5 separate regions of the Homo sapiens genome follow, and all the other regions are linked to region 3. Evidence: promoter capture Hi-C in 16 types of primary human blood cells and fetal thymus (Javierre and others, 2016). All regions are on one chromosome and are shown on one strand. The core of a region is centred on a gene start or on the middle of the fragment in contact, and the rest is flanking DNA. Distances in the headings are between cores, read along the strand shown.

Region 1 (2,700 bases), core at 130-2,629, 490 kb before region 3:
AGGCTGGAGTGCAATGGCGCGATCTCGGCTCACCGCAACCTCTGCCTCCCAGGTTCAAGCGATTCTCCTGCCTCAGCCTCCTTACAGGCATGTGCCACCACGCCCGCCTAATTTTGTATTTGTAGTAGAGACGGGGTTTCTCCATGTTGGTCAGGCTGGTCTCGAACTCCCGACCTCAGGTGATGCACTCGCCTCGGCCTCCCAAAGTGCTGGATTACAGGCATGAGCCACCGCGCCCGGCCACACAAATTCTTTAACCTGAATCAAATTCCGCATCATTTCAAAAATCCTAGGTTAGTCCAAGACCAATACTCACTTTCTCCATAGCAGCCTTCCAACACTTGAAAACAATTATCTTGCCTCTTAATTCTTTTCCTCTCCACAGCTCAACTGTTCCTTAGATTTCGTGGGTTTCCAAGTACCTCACCCATCAAATCAACGTTCTTTTTTTTTGTGAGACCAAGTGTTGCTCTGTCGCCCAGGCTGGAGTGCAGTGGCGTGATCTCGGTTCAGTGCAACCTCCACCTGGTGGGTTCAAGCGATTCTCCTGCCTCAGCCTCCTGAGTAGCTGGGATTACAGGCGCGCTCCACCACACCCAGCTAATTTTTGTATTTTTCGTGGGGACAGGGTTTGGCCAGGCTGGTCTCGAACTCCTGACCTCAAGTGATCCGCCGGCCTCGGCCTCCCGAACTGCTGGGATTACAGGCGTGAGCCACCGCGCCTGGCCCAAATCAACTTTGTCCTGACACTCTTTTATTTATACATGGTTCTTTAAGACTGTTTTTCTAAACCATGAGCAGATCCCTATTCTGTGTGTGTGTTCTAGCCCGAACAAAGCCCGAGGGGACTATTTCTTCCCTTGGATTTGATTCTACCCAACACTTCTAATGAGGTTCGGCTTCCCACAGGTTTCCAACACCTTGGGCGTATTGCCATCAATGAGCCTTGCGTTCGGACCTCCAGTTCAGAGAAAGGGAAAAAAGGCGGCCACGGTCAGACTGATAGACGGCTTGGCTTGGGGAACGCACAAAAAAAACTATTCTGGAACGCGAAAGAACTTCCAAAACATCTGTTCTTCCAGCTTTCATTTGTTAAAGCCCCAAGTGGAAGAAAAGGCTTTCCAGGCAGCCAGCGCCCCCACCAGCTGGTCCTGGGCGGGGACGAGGAGCTCCTCCCCACAGCCCTGCTAGGACCGGTCTAGGTGGGGTCCTCGGAAGCCACAGCTGCTAAACCCACTCCTCCCTCCCCAGACCATTCAGCCACGGCTCCCTCTCCTGTCCGCCTCGCTAACCCGCGACCAGCAGGCTCACCATGAATCAGAGCCGCTCCGGGTACCGGGAGACCGCACCGCGTACCTCGGGACCGCGCACCCGGAAGTGCGTCATAGCCCCGCCCCCGCGGAAAAGTAGTGCGGGGCCGTAGCGGCCCCTCTAGAAATTCGGGAGGTCCTCTCTGTGTCTCTGGCCCTTGGGACATCAGGGAGGAGTTGAGTCCACCCCGAAAATGAAAAGCCAGGGACTCTTTCTGTTTTTACCGAAGACGGTCAGACCAGATGAAGGCTGCGGCGGTTCTCTCACCCAACCCCGACGCCCTGGGGCAGGGAGGGCATGGGCTGAGGCAGCCACCTCGGTCACCCTCGTGGACTTCAGAGCCCAAGGTCCCTGAGTACCCTTGGGATAAGCACAGGGTTCCTTGTCCATAAACCTGGATCGAGGTCACTGGATACCCTTGGGCCCAGCTCCTCGGTCCAGGTTTATGGACATGGAACGCTGTGCTTGGCCCGTGAAGCCAGAGATTGAGTTAATACTTCGTTGATGAAAACAATCAAACTGTAAAATATTTGAAGACATTTATTTTGAGACAAATATGAGTGACCAATGGCCCAAGGTACAGTCTCAAGAGGTCCTAAGAACATGTACCTATGATGGTCGGGCTACAGCTTGGGTTTATACAATTTAGGGAGACATAAGACACCAATCAAGACATGTAAGATGAACATTGGTTCTGTGGGAAAGGCAGGACAATTCCAAGCGGGGATGTTCCAAGTCATAGGTGAACTCAAGGATCTTCTAATGGGCAACTGGCTGAAAGTTATTGTCTAAAGACCTATAATCAATAGAAAGGAATGTCTGGGATGACTAAGGCAGGGGTCCCCAACCCTTGGGGCACAGACAGATACCAGTCCATGGCCTGTTAGGAACTGGGCCGTTACTGCAGGAGGTGAGCTGCAGGAGCAAAGCTTCACCTGTATCTACAGCCACTCCCCATTGCTCTAATTACTGCCTGAGCTCCGCCTCCTGTCAGATCAGCCATAGCATTAGATTCTTACAGGAGCACAAACCCTATTGTGGACAGTGCATGCGAGGGATCTAGGTTGTGCACTCTTTATGAGAATCTAATACCTGATGATCTGTCGCTGTCTCCCATAATTCCCCAATGGAACCCTCTAATTACAGGAAAACAAACTCAGGGCTCCCACTAATTCTATGTTATGATGAGTTGTACAATTATTTCATGATATATTACAATGTAATAATAATAGAAATAAAGTACACAATAAATGTAATGTGCTTGAATCATCCTGAAACCACGAAACCATCCATCCCCCTCCTGCCATCCATGGAAAAAACTGTCTTCCACAAAACTGGTTCCTGGTGCCAAAAAAGGTTGGGGACCGCTGAACTAAGGGGTTGTGGAGA
Region 2 (2,700 bases), core at 47-2,546, 280 kb before region 3:
TGGTGCCACTGCACCAACCTGGGTAACAGAGTGAGACTCCATCTCAATTAAAAAAAATGTGTAGGCCGGGTGCAGTGGCTCATGCCTGTAATACCAGCACTTTGGGAGGCCAAGGCGGGCAGATCACCTGAGGTCAGGAGTTTGAGACCAGCTGGCAAACATGGGGAAACCCTGTCTCTACTAAAAATACAAAAATTAGCTGGGCATGGTAGTGAGTGCCTATAATCCCAGCTACTCAGGAGGCTGAGGCAGGGGAATTGCTTGACCCTGGGAGGTGGAAGTTTTAGTAAGCCGAGATCACCCCATTGCACTCCAGCCTGGGTGACAAGAGCAAGACTCCATCTCAAAAAAAGAAAAGTGTCAAAGAAATATATTTTGAGTTGCATATTGATTTCTCTTAACTGGCTGGGGTTTCTAGAGGGGAAAATTGACATTTTGTAGCTGTGGGCATTCCAGTAAACATTAGAGGGGGCCACGAATTGGTAAAACTTAGTGGAAGGTAGATTGAAACTCAAAACAGAAAGTTATCACACAATTTACATAGGGTCAAGATCTCCAAGCATAAGGGGAAGTTATAGCTAGCTGACAATAAACCTTGACCCTCAGCTACCAAATTCCAAAATGAAAAGCCACATCGGCTCCTTATGTGGAGACGGATCTCAAGCTAAAAACTGTTCATCATTATGGAAGCAGAAAACTCACCTTCCTTGTTGGAAGTAAGTAAAAACTCCCAGAAAGGAGCTCTATGGCAGAAGAAAATTCAGGTCTCAAGCAACATTTTATGGGAGATCAAGGATCTCTAGAAGGAGAAGCTCCCAGACCTCAGCACATGAGCCAATTGGTTAGAGTGATAAAAAGCTCTAGCTGGTTCTATCACACTGATGGGAAAATTTCTGCAGGCTGAGGGCCAAACTGCCCTCAGTGAATCCCATTGTGGTTACCAAGGTGTTAACCAAAAAGTGACTGAGGCAGGTGTCTTGATTGATAGAGGTTTATTGAGTCAAAGCTTGAGGGGACACCTGGAAACACATGAGCCACAGGGGTAGCTGCGACCTGTGTTTTTCCAAAGAGGGTTTTGGGAACTTCCGAATTTAAAGAGGAAAGAACCAGCAGGAAGGAAAAAAGGGGGGAAAGAGTAGGCAGTGTGGCAAATGATTACATTTGTGTAAGGCACCAATTAGCTCTCATCGAACCTGCACTTTACATGTGAAAAGACAGAGTAGAGGAAAAAATCAATTATGCATTCATGTTGTACTCAGAAAATCTACATTTTACATGAGATATACATGTGAAAAGAAAGAGTAGAGGAAAAGTCAGTTACATATTCATCTCAAGGTAGGTGGAGGGATGATTTCTGGTCTTGTCCTTATTCTGTACCTGTGATAAGCTGGTAATTTACATGATCAAGGTGTGAGTCAACAGAACTCAATGACAGGGCTGGTTTATAGGGCAGATGTATAGAATTCCATGTGAGCAACTTGTGAGGGAAACCATCCAGAAAGATATGTAGCCTTCTATTGATATAGGAGCCAGAAAAAAATTATTTAGGCAGATAGTGAGGGCAAAGGGGTCCTCAGCAAAGCTTCCCTTTTAACAAAAAGCAGCCCCCCAAATCATTTCTTTTCTAACAAAGAGCAGCCTGAAAAAATCAAGCTGCAGACATCGATAAGCAAGCTGGAAGCTTGCACGGGTAAATGCTGGCAGCTGTGCCAATAGAAAAGGGCTACCTTGGAAGCTGGTTATGTTCAACATGGAGGCCCCATCTTCCCTTATCTTTGTCACCCCATTTACAGTAAAAAAAGCAGGCAACATGGTGCCAGCCAGGAAGAGAACCATCTGCATAATAAAAGATTAGGGTGGGGCAGCCAACTTCTTCACATGTTATGCAAACAGTACACCTAGTCCTAACCAGTTTTTTATGTGCTATGCAAATGACACACCTGGTCCAACCAATCTTTCATGCCCTATGTAAATCAGACACTGCCTCCTCAAGCTCATCTATAAAACCTCCTGCACTTTACCGCAGGTCAGAAGACCCACTGGGGGCCCCCTCTCTCGGCAGGAGAGAGCTTTTCTCTTTCTTTCACCTATCCAACCTCTGCTCTTAACCTTATTCTTTGTGCGTCCACTATAGGGAGACCCCCTATATCTGTGGGACAACAAACCTCGGGTATTACCCCAGACGAGTGATGCCACATTGCTATTGTTGTGGGAATGTGGCTTATGTATGAAGCTATTACCCAGGGTTGTGAAATTACAGCTATCTGTCTGGGGAAAAAAGGAAGGCAGTAAGGTATGACTTAATTCTCAAGCTCGATTTTCCCTTTGTCATAGTGAGTTTAGGGTCTCAAAGATTTTATTTTTGTTCACATACTGAATATGCATGGAGTTTCCTATGACACGCATATTCCCCTTGCAATGCTCAATTCCCAGATCATCTTTTTCTTTTAGATAGCCTCTCTCTGTTTGTTACTTAGGTTGACAATAGCATTATCCAAACAAAATCTGGGCTGAGATTGTTCTCTCTGCAGTAAAATAACTCAGCATAGCAACAGCTCTATCCAATGCAAGTTTCCAGAATACTCACCCCCACATTTCTCCGTATTTTTCATTACATTCTCTGTCAAAATTCCAAAGACCCTGGCAGAAGAAACAAAATACAATTCAAGTATTATTTCGAATGTACTGAACGCTACATTT
Region 3 (2,700 bases), core at 187-2,686:
AAAAGAAATATGGATATGCTTCAGCTTTAAATACTTAAGAACCAAATCATAGAAGAGTCTCTAATTTGGAATTTGTGGCATTAAAAAAATTAACACGGTACAATTTAATAGTGTAAAGCTTTCTGTGGAAACTTTAAAATATTTAAAATTGGCCACGTGCGGTGGCTCAAGCCTGTAATCCCAACAGTTTGGGAGGCACAGACGGGTGGATCCCTTAAGCTCAGGAGTTCCAGACCGTCCTGGACAACATGGTGAAACCCCGTCCCTACAAAAAAAAAAAAAAAAAAAAAAATTAGGTGGCCCAGGCCTGTAGTTCCAGCTACTCCAAAGGCCAAGGCAGGAGAATCGCTTGAGCTTGGGAGGTAGAGGCTGCAGTGAGCTATGACTGCGCCACTGCATTCCAGCCTGTATGACAGCGTGACAGCCCACCTCAAATAAACAAAACAAAATATTTAAAATTTACAATCGTCTTTGGAGGCTCAAGTTGGTGCCCAGAGAAAAATGCTAGTTATGATTGCTCATTTTATTTTAATTTTGTTTTAGCAGAGATGGGAGTCTCGCTATGTTGCCCAGGCTGGACTCGAACGCCTGGCCTCAAGCGATCCTCCCACTTCGGCCTCCCAAAGTGCGGGGATTACGGCGTGAACCACCGTGACAGGCCCGCGTTTACGTAAATAAACTCATTTAAATAAATAAAACAGCAGGCCCCCTAGGAAATGTCTTGGTAACACCGTCAGCCCACTCCGATTTACTACACGGGCTTGGCGAATAAAACTCCACTTTTGGGGTCAGGCCCTTCGCTAACTCAGACCAGCTAGACCGGCCTTTTCCCGGAATCCTGAGAGCAACGCAGGTAAGAGCTGCGGTTCGAACAGGTTTGAGCGGCGTCCTTCAGGCCCAAGGACGCATGAGGGTGCCGTCCCCCTCCCACCACCCTCGCCCTGGGCCCCTGCCCGGCTCCCAGCTCGGTCCTCAGAAGGCCTTGCCCGGCGCTGCCCTCCTCCCACTTCCCTTTTAGGCCAAGGCAAAGTCCCAAAAGGACCAGTGAGGACATACAGACCAGCTCGCACCAGGGCACGGTCGCCGGCTCCTGACGGCGGGGCCCTCGGTCCGCGAGGTGAATGAACCAGGGCTGAAGAGAAACAGGCCCTCCTCGCACCCGGGCCTCCGCGCACTCTCGGGGAAGCGAACTACCGTCGGCCGCGGCCGGACGCCGCCTCCTTCTACTCCCGTGAAGGCAAAACAAGCTGCCACCCCGCTGCGACCCCAAAACGGCTTCCGGGTACTCACCGAGGGGAGGGGCGGGCCTGGCCGCTGTCCTGTCACCTACACACTCGCGCTCGGGGCCACCACAGCCTCTCCCGGGCCGCTGTAGACAGCCCCGAGGCCGGCGCTTCTCGGTGGCACTTCCGGCGACGGAGTGCAGGGTCCCGAATGAGGGCCCCCCCTCCTCCGCCCAGGCATGAGGGTCCCGGATGTGGGTGAGAGCCCCGGATGAGGGTCCCGGATGTGAGTGAGGGCCCCGGATGTGAGTGACGGCCCCGGATGAGGAACTCGGAGGAGGAGCTGGGCCCGCGCGTCCATGATTCGAAGGCTCGTTTTCGCAGCTTTTCCACGTCTTTTTCCGGTCCCACTGCCCTCCATGCTAACTCACTGGGCGTCTCTAGCCGTTATACCAACAATGACTGCGACCAGTGTTGGGAAAGCGCCCCCTGGGCCCCTCCCTGACGCCAGCCCATCCTTGAGACTCCCTGCAAGGAGGCGGCCCGACCCAGTGGGTGCGTGTCGTGGGGTGAGGAGGAATGGCCGACCTAATGGTCCCGCTTCCGTGAGTAGCACAGGGGTGCCTGCTCAGAGTGTAGTACAACGCTGACAAGTAGAAGGCGAGGATTGCGGGGCCTGGGTGAGATGGGACCCACTAAGTTGTGGGATCGAAATCTCAGTAGGTCCTTGGGGAAAGCGGGGACGGGAGGGGAGATGAGCAGATTGGAATAGAACCGAGAGAGACGGAGGAAACTGACAGTTGCGTCCCTGGTGGGAAGACTAAAATCTATGCAGAAACAGGGATAGGCAAAAGCATTGTGCACAAGCGGGACAGGCAGAGCGCCGGGACAGAAACCCTTAGGACATTCTGACACCTTGCTGAACCTGGATCCTTACAGAATATGTCTTGTAGGTGAAGCTAGATCTGCAAGGCATAGGCAAGCCTCTTAGAGAATCAGAAAAGTGATTTGGAAGGAACTTCAGCTGTTACTACTTTGTTTAAGCAAATCAAATGCTGTTCTTTAATGTTACTGGACGTTTCAAATTAAACACAAGAAAACCTGAAGTGTGGCATTTTATATATTTTTTCAAAATGTATCAGCTTCTTGGAGATTCTGATATTCCTTTCCTCTCTTTATCCCTAAGTATCATTTATCCAACCTAAATTCATACTAGGACACAATCTCTCTAGTCTGCAGTGCCCGTCACAGTGGAGTCAGGATCGGAGAAAGAAAATGCACTGCTTAGTCCATTTCATGCTGGACAGCTCCAATTAGAAACTTTTCCTTGTGTTGAACAGAAATACACCCCTGGTGATGTCTATCTATTGTTCCTGTTGACAGGTCCCCAGGACAATAGATGACACAGTACTTCTTCCTCTTCATAACGGCCATTTTAATATCCTAGGAGAGCTAAAGGTTTGGAGTTCTTCCTGAG
Region 4 (2,802 bases), core at 227-2,726, 420 kb before region 3:
TTATTCCTGTCATAGCTGCAGCTAATTTTCATAGTTGAGGATGTTCTGGGGTAACAAAGGGATGAATCATTTTTGGTCTAGGAGGAGTAATGCCTGCATCCATCCATTTAAATAGGTAAGGGGACACCCATTGTCTCAGCCTGTATGACTGCCATCCATCCTCTACATAATCTAACAAATAATTAAACTCTGAGCATGAGGTATTTTTGCTGGAGCAATCTTGCCAATAATGCCCTTTTGGAGCCCAATCAATAACAATACCTGCGGCTAGACTTTGGAGCACAACGGCCTTAGGAGCATTACAATTATTCCATAAAATTGAAGTCACTATAAAAGGTCCCTTTGTAGGTTTCTTTAACCAAAAGAGAGGCTGGGCACAGTTGCTCACACTAGTAAACCCAGCACTTTGGGAGACCGAGGCGGGCAGATCACGAGGTCAGGAGTTCAAAACCAGCTTGGCCAACATGGTGAAACCCCTGCCTCAGCTTCCTGAGTGCTGGGATTATAGGCATGTGCCACCACGCGCAGCTAATTCTTGTATTTTTTCAGTAGAGACGAGGTTTCATCATGTTGCCCAGGCTGGTCTCGAGTACCTGACCTCAACCTGAGGTGATCCAACCACCTCAGCCTCCCAAAGTGCTGGGATTACAAGCATGAGTCACCGCACCCGGGCCCCAGTCACTTTAGAATAGCATGTTGCTTTGTATTCGGAGGGTCTCTCTGCAAATAGCCCATCAACACTGAGCGTGCCTGGAAAGACCTGGTTTTCAAATAACTGGCTTCGTCTGTGTAAAACGAGTCTTGTTGTATGCATTAAAAATTATCTTGGCTGGGCGTGGTGGCTCACGCCTTTAATCCCAGCATTTTGGGAGGCTCGTTCTGTTGCCAGGGAGGCTGCAAAAGGAGGATGCGGCTATTTCTGCTTCCATCATGGAAGGCTGGGATTCCACAGGCACAGAAAGGAAGGAGGGAGAGATGGGAATGTGACTGTCCTCCAGACACAGCCTCTGGCAGGATCGGATGTGGGAGAGTGAGGGTCCCACCCCAGCTGGGGTCTACCCAGGTCCATGTCTTGGACATGTTGAGAGTTTTTCTGGAAGGCAGGGATACAGTGTGGTCCAAAAACACACAAATGCCCCTACTGGCCCAGGGGTTGTCACAATAGACTGGAAGGGTGACACATCCCAGGCGCTTGCCACCCATCACACGCACCTCCTACCCACTGGCATCCTTCCACCCCAGGCACACACAAAGCCTCAGTCCAGAGATCAACTCTGGACTCAGCTCTGAATTTGCATATCCTGTGTGTAGATTCATTCTTCATAACCTCTGCCCAGCCTAGCTTGTGTATCATTTTTTTTTCTCTATTAGGGGAGGAGCCCGTCCTGGCACTCCCATTGGCCTGTAGATTCACCTCCCCTGGGCAGGGCCCCAGGACCCAGGATAATATCTGTGCCTCCTGCCCAGAACCCTCCAAGCAGACACAATGGTAAGAATGGTGCCTGTCCTGCTGTCTCTGCTGCTGCTTCTGGGTCCTGCTGTCCCCCAGGAGAACCAAGATGGTGAGTGGGGAAAGCAAGGGATGGGTGCTGGAGAGGACTGGAAGGAGGTGAGGAACAGGACATGTGGCTGGGAGACAGGCTGGATGCAGCTGGGATACCCTGGCATACGGCAGGAATGGGTGCCCAAGGCTGTCAACTCCCTCAGCTCACACACTTCCAGGAGCATTCAGGGAGCCTCTGCGCTGGCCCGAAATAAGACCTTCAGGAATCTGAATCTAAAACCCCTAGTTTACAGTGAAAACAAAGACTCCAAAGACCAAGCGACCTGCTTGGGGTAGACAGTCAGGACGGAGTAGGAACCATATGCCTGGAGCTGCTTCTGCTCCTGTTCCTTCCCTCCTTCCGATGGCTGGGTACACCTGCCTGACGCTGAGGGAAAGAGAGAGCAGCCCCAAGGGGAAAGTGGGAAGGCAGGTTGGCTGGAGGGATGGTGCTAGAAGGAAACCCGTGCCCAAATCCCACACTCAGACACCACTGCAGTGGGTCTGGAAGGCGAGTGGCTGGAAGAGAAGAGAGTGGGAGCTCCGGGAGATCAAGAGTCACTCCTAGGATAAGGGAAGGAGGCTGTTTGTGGCATGAGAATGTGCAGGATAAAGACATGGAAGCGAATGGCTTCTCAGTTGTGTGAGTTTAAAATTCATGACATTTACAAATTGTCAGAAAAGGTGTTATATGTTTGTTATATAACAATCACTTTGGAATGTTAATCTGATTCTGTGCCAAAATCTGAATTACTCAGGGTTCTCCAGAGAAACAGAACTAATAGGTGGTACACATATACATATATATGTACGTACACATACATACATACACTGTATACACATGGATACACACACACATAGGAAGAGATTTACATATATGTATACAAAAGAGAGAGAGAGTAGAGATTTATTTTAAGAAATTGACTCACACTATTGGGAGGAGTAACAAGTCCTAAATCTTCAGAGCCGGCCAGCAGGCTGGAGACCCAGGGAAGAGTTGATGTCTTAGTCTTGATTCCAAGGGCAGACTGTAGGCAGAATTCTTTCCTCTTTAGGGGACATCTGAGGCTTTTTCTCTTAAGGCCTTCAACTGATTGGATGAAGCCCACCACTATGGAGAGTAATCCACTTTACTCAAGGTCTACTGATTTTTTTGTAAATTAAAAAAAAAACTGTGGGTGCATAGTATGTGTATATATTTATGGGGTACATGAGAGGTTTTGATTCAGGCATGCAATGTGAAATAATCACATCATCAA
Region 5 (2,708 bases), core at 104-2,603, 340 kb before region 3:
TTGATTAAGAACCATGTTGTAGGCCGGGCACGAAGGCTCATGTCTGTAATCCCAGCACTTTGGGAGGTCGAGGCAGGCGGATCATTTGAGGTCAGGAGTTCGAGACCAGCCTGGCCAACATGGTGAAACCCTGTCTCTACTAAAATACAAAAATTAGCTGAGCATAGTGGTGTGCACCTGTAATCCCAGCTACTCGGGAGGCTGAGGCAGGAGAATCGCTTGAACCTGGGAGGTGGAGGTTGCAGTGAGCTGAGATTGTATCCACTGCACTCCAGACTGGGCGATAGAGTGAGACTCTGTCTCAAAAAACAAACAAACTAAAAAGAACCATGTTGTGGGTGTTCACTTCTAGCCAAAATGGAGTAAATAAACGAGTTGTTTTCTTGTCTGCAGCAACTAAAATAAAAACACAAAAACAAAACAGGCACAATATGTGAAACAACCGTTTTCAAAGCACCAGACGTCAGGCAGTGAAGGACGGTGATTCCTGAGAAATGTGAAACAAATGAGGTCAGCCTATGATTGCCCTACCCTCTGCCTGAGGGAGTTTCCAGACCATGTAAGGCTGAGGTAACTGAGGTAGAGCCAGGGAGACTTGCTGAGTTGAGGAATAGACCTGGGAGTTCACGGAGAACAAAGTAGTGAGAGTTCGCAAAGTACTGGGCAGTATCCTGGAGCGGAGAGAGCCGGACACAGAGAGAACCCTCGCCATCTATGGAGGAGCTTCCTAGTTGTTTGGCAGAGTTCTGATCAGCACATGCCTGTGAAAATCTACTCAAGGCTGGAGATAGAAGCTTCTAAAACGATTAGAGGGAACGGTTCCTGGTGCTCACACAGGGCCAGGAACAGTGCCAGTTCCTATCAGCCACACCAGAAAACTCGTAGTTCACGGGCACTGAGTAGCGTACTCAGGAAAATCTTGCCTCATTAGCAGAAAATATTTAGCCCTTGACTGGGTGCTGCTCCACACCCACCTTACAAATCATGAAAGCAAGACCCAAAGGGGTCAAACTCTTTCCAACTAACTTAACTGCATCCCAGGATAAAGCCCTAGAAAATTGGTAGAAATAAACAAAAAAAGAGCACCTAACAATATAAATTCACAATGTCTGGCATCCAGTCAAATATGCATGCAAAAAGATAGGAAAGCAGTGACCCATAATGGAGGAAAATAATCAACTGAAACTGACCTAGAATTGACACAGATGTTAGAATAAGCATGGAAGGACTTTAAAACATTTATTATGAGTGTATTCTGTAAAGAGGTACATAGAGACCAGATCAAAGTTTTAAAGATGAAAAATGTGATTAAGGCGAAGAATGCACTGGATGGGATTAATAGTTGATTAAATATTACAAAAGAAAAAATTGGTGAACTTGAAGACAGAGCAATGGAAACTACAAAAAAATGAAACATACACAGAATAAAACAATTTACAAAAACACAAAGAGCATCAGTGACCTGTGGGACAACTTTATGCAGCCTTATTATCTATGGTGATTGGCGTCCCTGAAAGAGAGGAGTGGGGAGGGAGATGGAATAGGAAAAATACTTGAAGACATAATGGCCAAAGATTTTCTGAATATAATAAAAACTAAGTCCACAGATCCAAGATGCTCAACAAACCCTGAGTATGAGAAATATGAAGAAAAATATGCCAAGGCTCATCATAACTTGCTGGAAACCAGTGTTAAAAAGAAAATCTTAAATGCAACCAGGGGAGAGGATAGTTACTTGCAGTGGAACAAAGACGAAGTTGACATTACACTTCTCATTGGAAACAATGCCAGTAAGCAAACTCTTTAAAGTCCTGAAAGAAAAAAACTGTTAACCTAGAGTTCTAGAACTGGCAAAAAATATCCTTCAAAAACAAAGGTGAAATAAATAAGTTTGGAGGTAAACTAAAGCTTAAAAGAAAGAGTTTACAGCAGACTGACACTTCAAGAAAGGAAGTCTTAAAGGAAGTCCTTCAGACAGAAGGAAAATGCCAGATGGAAATCTCTCTACACAAAGGAATAAAAGAGCACCAGAAATGGTAATGACACGAATAAATATATATTATTGTCATTATTTATTCCTTTAAAAAGGAATTGCGATGGTAAGTTTATACATCAACTTGACTGGGCCACAGAGTGCCCAGATATTGGTCAAAAATTATTTTGGGTGTTTTTTTGAGGGTGATTTTGGATAAGATTAACATTTAAGTCAGTAAGCCTGTGTAGACTGCCCTTCATAATGTGGGTGGGCCTCATCTAATCAGTTGAAGGCTTGAATAGAAAAAAAAGGCTTGACCTTTCTGATGGATTTCTAAAGCATACTACCTTGGCCTTCACTGCAGCATTGGCTCTTCCTGCCTAATGGCCTTCCAACTAGAACGCTGGCTCTATCTGGGTCTTGAGCCTGCCAACTCACACAGCAGATTCGGACTTGTCAGTAGCAATAATCACACAAGCCAGTTCCTTATATTAAATCTTATACACTGGCTGGGTGTGGTGGCTCACATCTGTAATCCCAATTCTTTGGGAGGCTGAGTTAGGAGGATTGCTTGAGGCCAGGAGTTTGAGGCCAGCCTGGGCAACATAGTGAGACCCTGTCTCTACAAAAAATAAAATAATTAGTGTGCTGGTGTGTGCCTGTAGTCCCAGTTACTTGGGAGGCCACGGCGGGAGGATGGCTTAAGCCCAGGAGGTTGAGGCCGCAGTGAGCT

What was found. The method cuts DNA at HindIII sites, captures the fragments that hold promoters and counts their contacts. A CHiCAGO score of 5 or more calls a contact.
Region 1: a contact is called between the fragment with the promoter of ZSCAN21 here and the fragment with the promoter of ZNF655 in region 3, in 1 of 17 cell types (M1 macrophages). The highest score is 7.6, in M1 macrophages.
Region 2: a contact is called between a fragment that was not itself captured here and the fragment with the promoter of ZNF655 in region 3, in 1 of 17 cell types (erythroblasts). The highest score is 6.4, in erythroblasts.
Region 4: the fragment with the promoter of AZGP1 here is called in contact with the fragment with the promoter of ZNF655 in region 3 in 1 of 17 cell types (M2 macrophages); the score reaches 5.2 in M2 macrophages.
Region 5: a fragment that was not itself captured here is called in contact with the fragment with the promoter of ZNF655 in region 3 in 1 of 17 cell types (erythroblasts); the score reaches 7.0 in erythroblasts.

What each region holds. Positions count from the first base shown.
Region 1 is chr7:100,048,453-100,051,152 of GRCh38, reverse strand. ZSCAN21 (zinc finger and SCAN domain containing 21) reads right to left here and starts at 1,379. Exons shown (of 4, transcript NM_145914.3): 1 at 1,312-1,379. RefSeq lists an enhancer at 858-1,477. The HindIII fragment of the contact is 10,625 bases long and covers 1-2,242 here.
Region 2 is chr7:99,839,060-99,841,759 of GRCh38, reverse strand. It overlaps CYP3A43 (cytochrome P450 family 3 subfamily A member 43), which reads right to left. Exons shown (of 13, transcript NM_057095.3): 3 at 2,588-2,640. Among named protein-coding and RNA genes, the nearest start is that of CYP3A43, 12 kb to the right of the region's middle. The HindIII fragment of the contact is 576 bases long and covers 1,009-1,584 here.
Region 3 is chr7:99,557,378-99,560,077 of GRCh38, reverse strand. ZNF655 (zinc finger protein 655) reads right to left here and starts at 1,436. Exons shown (of 3, transcript NM_138494.3): 1 at 1,291-1,436. It also overlaps a transcript of FAM200A not described here. RefSeq lists enhancers at 1,362-1,631, 1,662-1,791. The HindIII fragment of the contact is 4,019 bases long and covers 121-2,700 here.
Region 4 is chr7:99,974,705-99,977,506 of GRCh38, reverse strand. AZGP1 (alpha-2-glycoprotein 1, zinc-binding) reads left to right here and starts at 1,476. Exons shown (of 4, transcript NM_001185.4): 1 at 1,476-1,562. The coding sequence starts at 1,487. The HindIII fragment of the contact is 13,516 bases long and covers 1-2,802 here.
Region 5 is chr7:99,899,860-99,902,567 of GRCh38, reverse strand. The region is part of intron 5 of TRIM4 (tripartite motif containing 4); the gene reads left to right. Among named protein-coding and RNA genes, the nearest start is that of TRIM4, 18 kb to the left of the region's middle. The HindIII fragment of the contact is 1,114 bases long and covers 797-1,910 here.